3 separate regions of the Homo sapiens genome follow, and all the other regions are linked to region 2. The links are contacts of gene promoters, found by promoter capture Hi-C in blood cells and fetal thymus (Javierre and others, 2016). All regions are on one chromosome and are shown on one strand. Each heading gives the region's core, a stretch centred on a gene start or on the middle of the fragment in contact. The rest is flanking DNA. Distances are from core to core; before and after follow the strand shown. Region 1 holds the start of USF1 (upstream transcription factor 1). Region 2 overlaps LOC105371466 (a long non-coding RNA gene). Region 3 holds the start of KLHDC9 (kelch domain containing 9).

What was found. Contacts are between HindIII fragments. The CHiCAGO score rates a contact against its expected background, and 5 or more counts as called.
Region 1: the fragment with the promoter of USF1 here is called in contact with a fragment that was not itself captured in region 2 in 1 of 17 cell types (fetal thymus); the score reaches 5.3 in fetal thymus.
Region 3: a contact is called between the fragment with the promoter of KLHDC9 here and a fragment that was not itself captured in region 2, in 1 of 17 cell types (fetal thymus). The highest score is 5.2, in fetal thymus.

The regions. Positions count from the first base shown.
Region 1 is chr1:161,044,265-161,047,357 of GRCh38, reverse strand. USF1 (upstream transcription factor 1) reads left to right here and starts at 1,381. Exons shown (of 11, transcript NM_007122.5): 1 at 1,381-1,500. ARHGAP30 (Rho GTPase activating protein 30) reads left to right here. Exons shown (of 12, transcript NM_001025598.2): 12 at 1-412. RefSeq lists enhancers at 531-1,411, 1,022-1,501, 614-1,813, 1,412-2,292, 2,352-2,581. The HindIII fragment of the contact is 1,293 bases long and covers 952-2,244 here.
Region 2 is chr1:160,396,233-160,399,645 of GRCh38, reverse strand. All of the region lies in intron 3 of LOC105371466 (a long non-coding RNA gene), which reads left to right. Among named protein-coding and RNA genes, the nearest start is that of VANGL2, 2.6 kb to the left of the region's middle. The HindIII fragment of the contact is 965 bases long and covers 1,058-2,022 here.
Region 3 is chr1:161,096,735-161,099,823 of GRCh38, reverse strand. KLHDC9 (kelch domain containing 9) reads right to left here and starts at 1,463. Exons shown (of 4, transcript NM_152366.5): 1 at 762-1,463; 2 at 319-478; 3 at 28-226. The coding sequence starts at 1,288. RefSeq lists silencers at 1,040-1,089, 1,150-1,329. The HindIII fragment of the contact is 8,697 bases long and covers 1-2,308 here.

The DNA of each region.
Region 1 (3,093 bases), core at 132-2,631, 650 kb before region 2:
GAAAGCCAAAGGTAGAGACAGGGAGGACAGGGCCAGGTTAGGGCCTTCCACACACAAACACTTCTAGAGTTGCCCATTCCTGTTATGTTCTTGGACCCTAAGATACCTCCTGTCCCTTTTAAATCCAGATTAAGAGAAACGTCCAGGAAGAGCTCTTTGAAGCCCTCAATATTTGTTGGAGGGACTGGACTCCTCTCCAGCTCCCCACCCTCTGCCTCCAGTCACCATGTGCAAGAGAGGTCCTGTACAGATCTCTCTGGGCTCTCCTTTCTCCTTTGGAATAACTTGTTCCTATTTCAGGAAAGGGAAATGGTGTCACTCAGGCCCTGGGACTGCTTCTCCAGCCAGGCTGGGGCCACAGGTCCCACTCTAGTGAAGGTCAATGTCTCAGAATAAAAGCTGTATTTTTACACATAGTGTGGAGTCTCATTATTCTTATTAAAGTCTTTGGTGATAGGTATTATATCTTCACATATTTGGCAAAACATTCTTTTTCTTCTTCTTGTTTGGGTGCTCTTCCTCAGTTGTTGTCATGGAGACTAGTGGCCAGAAACTAGAGCTAGGTTCATGGTGGTCAGGAAATAAGGAAGAGAAACTTATATTTACATAATGCGTTCATTATGTGCCAGGAACTGGACTAAGTATCCTGTGCTCACAAAATCTATGTCCTTGATTTTATTTAATCCACACAATTCTGGAAGGTTGGTGCTAGTATCTCCAGTTTATAGATGAGGAAACTAAGGCTCAATTAAGTCAAAATGTTTGCCAAAGGTCTCAGAGGTAAGAAGTGGCAGAGATGGGTTTGAAACCTGGATCTGCCTGGCCCCCAAGCTTGAATTTTTCCCATTATACCACACTACTCCAAATCCATTCAGGGTAGGTCTTGATTGAGAAGAATGGGAATCAAGATTCCTGTCACAGAAGGTGTGAGCCTTTAGAACACTAGAAGCTTTGGGGTCTTTGGATGAGTGACTGCTGACGCGAATAACAAGGAACATATCCAATTCTATGCATGCCCCGATAGGTCGTAATCTCTAGCAGGTAACCTTTCAAAAAGACGCCCTGCGCCAAGATGGCCTCCCAAATAGCCCTTGTTAAAGATGGCGCCTCCGTCGGACGTCCCTCCCTTGATCTCAGCTGGATTCTCTTCTTTCCTGGAATGAAAAAATGCCCTGCCAAGCACTAAGATATTAGTACAAGTTAGTCGTCTCTTTCCCGTTCTTGTCGAAAGTGGCCAGGCCTTCAGCTACATTCTCCAGGACACGGCTTCTTTCCGGCTTCACAAATAACCCACAAACACCAACTCTCATCAAGATGGAGTGAGCGGAAGTGGGGCAGTTCTGAGTTTGAGTTTATGGGCGGGGCGAGAGCGACACTTCCGCCCCTCACCAACATGGCCGCGGGCTGGAAGTGCGCATGAGCAGCTGTCTATGGAGATACCTAGGCCGGGAGAGGGAGAACACAGTTGGAGAAAATCGGCAGCTGAGACGGCCTTGGCCGGTGAGTGTAGGACCGGGCAGAAGTCTGGAAACTGGGTGGACTGGCAAGGCAGGGCAGCTTTGATTTTGTTTCCGTTTTTCAAGTTAGAGAACACTGCTGGGGAGGAAGCCTTTGTTTTGGGGGAGGGGGCTGTGCTGGTTCTTTATCTCATACCCTGCTTTGTGGGCCAAACTCTCTCCCTTCCCCAGAGCGCGAGCGTCCCAGCCCTCCTGCGCTGTCCAGCTGCGCGCCGCAGCCGCCGGCACCGGGCGCTTGAGCTCCCTAGTCCCCGAGGCCCTTTCCTGCCTCCTCCGCGGAGCAGCTGGGGCGCGGGGCTAAGACTGCGGGGCTGCGGGGTCACGGCGCAGGCTCCCGGGCTCGCGCCTGGCGGGCGCTCAGCTCCGTAAGCGCCTTCTGGTTGGTGAGCCTGCAGGGAGACGCCTCATTCTAAGGCAAGGTCTAGGTGCCTGACTTCTTTCGGGAGTTGATTTTTTTTCCCTTTGTGTCCAGACTTAGCAAGGGCTCTTACTGGGCCCTTCTGGCCTGAGCGTGCACACCACAACGTCCCATCCCTGTTTCCGTGTCACCGATCCCTAATGCCTAGGAAATGCTTCCGGATGTCCAACTAAGATTTGAATAAGTACCCTGACCCCGTTGCTGGGTGTCCTCAGAGACTGCCCCGGCTGACAGCTGTGGCCAATAGAGATGCCTCCTGTGCCGGGCCCTCTATTTCATTGCCTTCCCCTGCAGTCAGCGCGGCAAGCTTCGCAGGGCATTTCCTCTTCAGGTTTGAAGATGGAAATGTAGGTGGTCCCAAAACACTAGTGCTACTTCCCCTTATCGACTGGGATCTCCTTGCAGCGTTACTTCGTCTGTACGGTTTCACTTTCAGTTCCTTTTTCAACATTTTCCTCGGACGCGGTCTTTCCGAGGCTTATCCATTGAAAATTTTCCTTGGATAGGAAAGGTTTGGAGGACCTTATGGGTAGAGAATTTCCAAAAATCTTGCCCCTTTTGTGTTGGGATTATCTTATTGCTTTGTACTGTGTAGCTGTTTCTTTCTGGAGGCATGTCTGCCCAGCTCTTTGTTTTTCCTGCCCTCTGGCTGGGTGTCAGGGTCCTAAGGCAGAGCTTGTAGGTGGATTCTTCCCCCTTTGTCTCTTCTTCAGAACCCTGTTTTTTTTTTTTTTACCCCTTCTTGCTCAGGCTTAGTTGATTTGGAGTTGTCATAGCAACATTTTAGCAACAGTGTTGTTCTGCAGGAAGGCTTGATGAATAAAATAGAGAATGCTTGAAGAGGATCCACTTGGGCTTTAGGGTTTCTAACAGATTATATAAATCTGGATACCCCAAAACAAGAGTCCTGTCAGTAGAATGGGGCCCAAATGCCAAGTCTAGTCTTTGTGGTCAGGGATATTCTTCCAGTGGTAGTGGGCTTCAGATTTCCTCTTCCTAGGTTTGAAAACAGAAATGTCTTGATGGACAACATGTGGCTGAGAAACTGGAAGAAGCATCAGTGTCCATGACACTGTATTTTTTGATGGTGGGGCCAATACATGGCCCTTCCTGATTCCCATGAAGCTGCCATCATGGCAGGTCATAATAGCTTTAATG
Region 2 (3,413 bases), core at 291-2,790:
TGTGCCTCCCAGTATGCCAAGAAACCAGTTAGGGTTCTTTTACATGTGACCCTACAAGAGTGAACCCACACCGTAAAAGCCTGGGCTGTGGGAAGTCCATGTTCCCCTTGGAGTAAGTGAAAGCAGTATTCAATTATCATTAATGTTATTGCCGTGCAACCCGCCACTTAGAGTAGTATCATTTCAAAAGCATCTTCACATACTTCTCCCTAAGCAGGCCAAGGCCTTTTCAATATCTCAGCCTCCTTCAGTTTCCAATCCTGGCACCTGCTTGAACAACCCTGTGATTAAGGAATCCCAGAGAAAGAGACTCCCAGCCTCTGTTCCTCACTTGTTTGGGAATTTTTGCTCCTCCCTGATGAAAACTATTTCCTGAGACCTAATCTCACCCCTTTTGATGGTTCATTCTAACCTGTCCAAAGATGAGGACAGAACCAACTATGCTGCATTGTTCAAAGATGCAGAACAGTAAAACACACTTCCTTTCTCCTTTGCCCAAACTCTGTCTTTCCTCATCCCCTCCTCCAGTAGTATGGGTAAGCAGGTGACTCAGCATCAAGACTACATGAAATATGCAGAATCATCATTTCAGGTACCCAAGTCCCTGCATGCGTCCAGGCACTCATTCACCTTGTGCCTATCATGTGCAGGCACTGGGCCGCACTGGGGCTCCTGGCAGTGACCACGACCAGGTGTATGAGGGAGTGGCAGGAGAGCTGGGGAAGGGTTAAGGGAAGTAGGGAGGACATGGGTGTCCCCAGCCCTGCCCCAAAGCACACCCCAGTGCTAGGCAGCTAGTGTGTAATTTGACACAGAGTCGGGGCTGCCGTGGCACTGTCTTGACTCTCAGGCAGATTTAGTGTGAATTATCTTCACATGCTGCTAGCCTGTTTCACAGACCCCAAAATGGCCCAAAGAACTGGAAAAAGGGCTTCTGATGCCAGAATTACAGATAATTCCATAGTCTGGCCCCACTGAAAGCTTGAAACCTAAGTCAGGATGTTAACAGACAAGGCTTCCCAATTAACAGGTATCAGGCATCAGGCTAGAATAAGCTTAGTCCCTCCTTTCTCTGACGGTGAGGTTGGGGGCTTTCAATTACATCTCTGCAATGAAAACACTGGATTACAGAGTCCAACAAAAAATTTTATTGGTGTGGTCTGTCCCATTCAGCAATTCTCTGTATTACCTTCTACCTTCACCTCAGGATAGAATCCCATCTGGATTTCACACGTCCCCAAGTCACTGAGTAAGCAAACAGAGACCCAGCTAGAAGGCCCATGTGCCCTATGGTCTAAGGGACCTAGCTTAATTCTTTAGAAGGAAGGAGAGCACTGAAATGACATTCAACTGAGATTTTCCTAAAGGGGCCAACCTACAATAACAGAGGGAGGCCAAGAGCCTGAGGGACAATAGAATGGAACAGATTGGATTTTGTACAGCTCCTGTCCTTGAGGACATAGTCGAATTTCTTAATTTCTTCAAGCCTCAATTTCTGCTTATATAAAAAGGGTCTAATGAGGTAACAGAAGGAACACCCTCCATATACTCATAGTGCCACAGTCAATTCCCAGTCGAGTTTCCCCTCTCTGTTCTGTGCCTAGGATACTTCTCTTAGGAGAGAACACTTCTCTAGGACACTTCTTTCAGTACTCTTCCTCGGGGAAGGAGGCCCCTAGCTAAAAGCCAGGGCCCTCCATTAAAGCCCTTTCAACACCTCACCAGCTCACTAGGTGGAGGTGGGGCTGGTGGGGTCAGATCAGAGGCTTCCCAGGAGCCCTGGGAGTTGGACCCTCCTGGGGAAGATTCAAGGAACTCAAGAAGTGACAGTAGACTCTCTCTGAGGGAAGGTCCAGACTATAGAGAAGCACCTACCTACTTCCTGTGTGGATGAAGCTGTCCCTGGAGGTCAGGCCCAGACCACAGTAGCAAAAGTTAGGTTTTCTGCTCTGATGAAAAGTAGGGCCTTTTTACAATGCTGCTCAGAGAAAGGGAATCCTTGGTACCTTACTCATAGAAGCTTCACACTATAGCAGAATGGCCATCAAAGTGTTTCCATGTAAGCAATTAGCAATTTTAGCCACCTCCCAGGTACAGGTGACTGCAGTAATGTACCCACATGCAGGGCCACAATCACCATCTACTTCCAGCCCTGCTGATGAGCCTGGGTACAAGTTGATCTCCCGGAATAGTTACAGATCTTTCCCCAGCACCCACCTTCCCAGAAAGGCTACTCTCAATGCTCACAAAAGGATTTCCAGACCCAGTCTATATTGGGAAATACCTGGGTTCTGGGTGTGAGGGGTTTCCCCCTTCACTTTTAGTTAAAAAAAAAAAAAAAAAAGAATAAAAGTAGCTCACACACAAAAAAACTTAACTGGTCAAGAACTGTATTATGTCATAGGCTTGTGGTGAAGTGTCTGTCATGTGAGATCCTGATCTCTAAGAAGAAGGACCATGCCTCATTCATTTCTATATCTCTGGCACATAAAATTCAATAAGTTAGCATTAGCTGCCTTCCCTTCTAGCTTCCTTCTCTTTCTCCCTTCCTCATCTATGAAACCTTGACCACTCCCTATTCATCCAACCTTTATTAAGTGTGAGTTTCCTCAAATCCAATCCCATTATCATTAATCTAAAATGTTACCTGCAATTAAACCAGTGGTTGTGAACTTTGACTGCAGATTTTAATCACCTGGGAAGCTTTGAAAACACATCAATGCCCAGGACCATCCCAGACTAATTAAACCAGAAACTTCTGAGGTGTGACCCAGCTATTGGCATTTTTTTTAAGATACCTCAGTGATTTTAATGTGAGAACCACTGAATGAAACTTTCTGATTTCCTTCCTCCTTCTTGGGAAGAATAGACACTCTCCAGCTCCCTTGGCTGGGACTAGGCCCTGCAGGTGTGCGTTATATCCTGTCCTTTCCCACCTCCATCCATTATTCACAATCTCTCCTGTAACCAACTTCGGCCTCTTCACTGATCTTTGCCCAGCAGACATAATAAAATGAAATACCTTCCTCCACTCAGCAGCCTCCTCTTGCTTTAGCCTTCGCTTTTATTTCTTTCTCATCCAACCTTCTTAAAAGAGTAGATTCTTAGGCCAGGCCTGGTGGCTCACACCTGTAATCCCAGCACTTTGGGAGGCTGAGGCGGGTGGATCACCTGAGGTCGAGAATTAGAGACCAGCCTGACCAACATGGAGAAACCCCGTCTCTACTGAAAATACAAAATTAGCCGGTCATGGTGGCAGGTGCTTGTAATCCCAGCTACTCGGGAGGCTGAGGCAGGAGAATCGCTTGAACCCAGGAGGAGGAGGTTGCGGTGAGCCGAGTTCGTGCCATTGCACGCCAGCCTGGGCAACAAGAGTGAAACTCCATCTCAAAAAAAAAAAAAAAAAAAAAAAA
Region 3 (3,089 bases), core at 214-2,713, 700 kb before region 2:
CCCTTCAGCCATTAGTCTGGCTCTCACGAGTATCATAGATGTAGAGATCATTGCAGATGGTGTCTCTAGCTCTGGTCAGAGTTTCTCCACCAAACAGCACAGCAAAGGGCCCGACCACAGAACATGAGTGATGCCGTAGTCCATGGGGCCCCTTCTGGGACCCCTGCCCACTGCTCACAAGCCTTGCAAGCTGTTCCATCAAATGAGGAGCAACAGGTGGTTCCTCCTTGGGGAGAAAGAAAGGACTGTCCGAAGAGACCTGGGCATCACAATTTTAGCCTCTTCCCATCCTAAACAAGATGTGTGAGGAGCTAATACCTTAATTTTCCCATGACTCCAATGCCCAGCTACTTCTGGTTCAGCTAAGTTGCAACCTCCAAAGAGCAATAGCTGATGACCTGGATGGGGTCCAGGAGTTTGGAGCAGGGCCGCACAGTGACCTGAGCGTGAGGCTGTGTGGCAGCCTTCTTGCTTGTAGCTGTGGACATGCAGAAATTCAGGGCTGAGTGGGTTTTCTGGAAAATGTAAGTGCCACCGCCCTTGCCAAGGATGGATGGAGAAGAGGCATGGGGCAGTGCGGTAGGTGGGATAAGAGGGAGGGTAATACTGTAGAGAGCTCAGCTAGCTTAAACATGGTAGGTTCCCCTGGAAGGAGGGTGCTAGAGTGAGGAGGTGGATAAATTGCCTGAGAAATCTGCTTAGGCTTTTGTTTTTCGAGAGTGTGGATGAGAGTGAAAGGTTTTGGGCGGAGGGTGCCATACCAATAGGTGCGGGCGCTGGGGTCCAGCCTTAATGTGTAGATGCTTCCATAGCGTCGCTGAGTGTGGATACCGCCCTCCCGGCCAGCCACCTGCAGCTCTCGGTCAGAGATTCGGGTGCAGGTGTGACTACTGAGGCCGGCGGGGGGGCAGTCACCAGGGGTCCCTGTCCACGCCTCCCACACACCGCGCTCTGTGTCCAGTGCGGTCACTGTGGCCAAGCGGCGAGACCCGTCCCAGCCGCCCACCACGCAGAGCCAACGCCCGTCCACGGGTGCCGCGTCGTGGTGACTGCGCGGGGGGCTGCCCCGGGCTCCCAATCGTACGGCCTGGCCCCTAGCTGGGTCGAAAACCACCGTATCGCTGCTGGGCTCTCTCGCTCCTCCTGCTAGGAGACCACCTACGAGATAGAACCGTCCCCGCAGTTCGGTGCATGAATGGAAAGCTCTAGCCAAAAGCGCGTCCCGCGCCACTGGCCTCCAGGCCCAGCCTGAGCCTGCGGCCCGACCCGGGGGCACGGCCACCGCCATGGGCCCCGGGGAGAGGGAGGGCGGTGGGGTCTGCGGCTTGGAACGAGCCCCTACATGGCAGGCCAGGCACCTCGCCTTCCGCGGGCTTCCCCGGGAACCTCCCCCTACCGGACGCCAGCCGGGGTTCCCACCTCAAGTCCCGGCTTTCTCTCCGTGGTCGCCCAGCAACCACTGCAGCGGCTGCAGCGCGACCGCTGCAAACCGAAGGTCGCAAAGCAGCAGTTACCGTGGAGACAGGACACCTGGGTGGCTATCGGGAACCGTATGGTGGTGCCACCAAGGCTACGGGAGCTGTATCAGGTCAATAAAAATCCTGCAAGATTGTTAACCTCAGAAAGTCGGAGGACAGTCGGGTCCTTAGAATAAACCCCTGTGATCTCCGCTGTGAACTGATTTGCGATTTTGACATTTGAGGTGCAGGTGCTGCTCCACTAGGGCCGGGAGGGATCATTTGGCTTCAGGGTTTCTTACTCGGGCTAACCACCCCAGGGATGAGCAAGGAAGGAGAAGCAAAAGTCAGAGGGTGGGGAAGTGAAAGTGGACTGACCACTGGCCCGAGAGACAGGAGACCTGGGTTCTAGTCCCAACTATGCCCCTGACCCTCAAAGGCATTGTTTCTCTCTAGGCCTTCTCAGTTTTGTCATTCATCAAATAGGCTGTTCGTTTATTCCCAAAGGCTTGAAGGTCCCGATTGATTGGGTGGGAGAGTCCTTTCAGCTCTGGCCACTAGAGGGTAGCAGAACCCAGTCTCTCAGGTGACACACACACACACACACACACACACACACACACACACACAGAGAGAGAGAGAGAGAGAGAGAGAGAGAGAGAGAGAGAGAGAGAGAGATAGAGAGAGAGAGAGAACCCACGCAGCCTTAGAAGGGTGAAGTGGGGGAAGAGTGAGAAAATGAGAAAAACAGACTCCTACCCTTCCCTGATATCTTTTATTTAAGCCAGTTTCCAGATATTAACTCTGTCCCCCAGGACCAAGTGATAACTGAAGAGGCCCAGATGCAAGCTTTCTGCTTTCAGCTGAAGGAGGAAATACAGACAGAATTTTCCTCCCAACACAGCTGGTGTGGGGCAAAAACAGGATCTGTGTCCTCTGGGACTGGGCTGTAAGTGGGAATGATGACTGCTACTTGTGGCCTTTGGTTTCTACACATCACCTTGCTCCCCATCATACCTGAGATACTGAGACCATAGAAAGTGGCCAGGCAGGAGAATCACTTGAGGCCAGGAGTTCAGGAGTTCAAGACCAGCCTGGGTAACATAGTGAGACCCTGGCGAAAGAAAGAAAGAAAAAAAGAAAAGAAATAAAGAAAGGAAGAAAGGAGACAGTGGCCAGGGCTGCAGTGAGGATGGGCATGTAATGCAGGGTCTGATAGCACAGCAGGGCTTTCCCCTCCTCTTCCCAACTCTTGGTCCTCAGAGAACACAGCATGGGGATGGCATGGGCAGGAAAGGCACAGTTACAGAGATTGGAAGATTACCAGGACCTGTTCCCCACCTGTACCTTAAAGCCAAGATTCAACAATAGCTTTGAAAGTCTCTGCCCTCCCAACTATAGCTTTCCCTGAGTATGACAGGCAGTATTCTCAGTTTTCCAAAATCATGGTAAGAATCTCTAAAAAATCACTAACTTTTACTGTCCTTGGCTGAAATTTAAAAGTCAGTCTTTTCCCTCAGGCTTCTTTCTCACTGGCTAACCTCCCAACAGCTGGATTCAGATCTGTCATACTCCTAGGATTAGGCAAGGGCTTGCCTCAGGGGTGGGGCAATTTTGCTTAAACCTTATTGG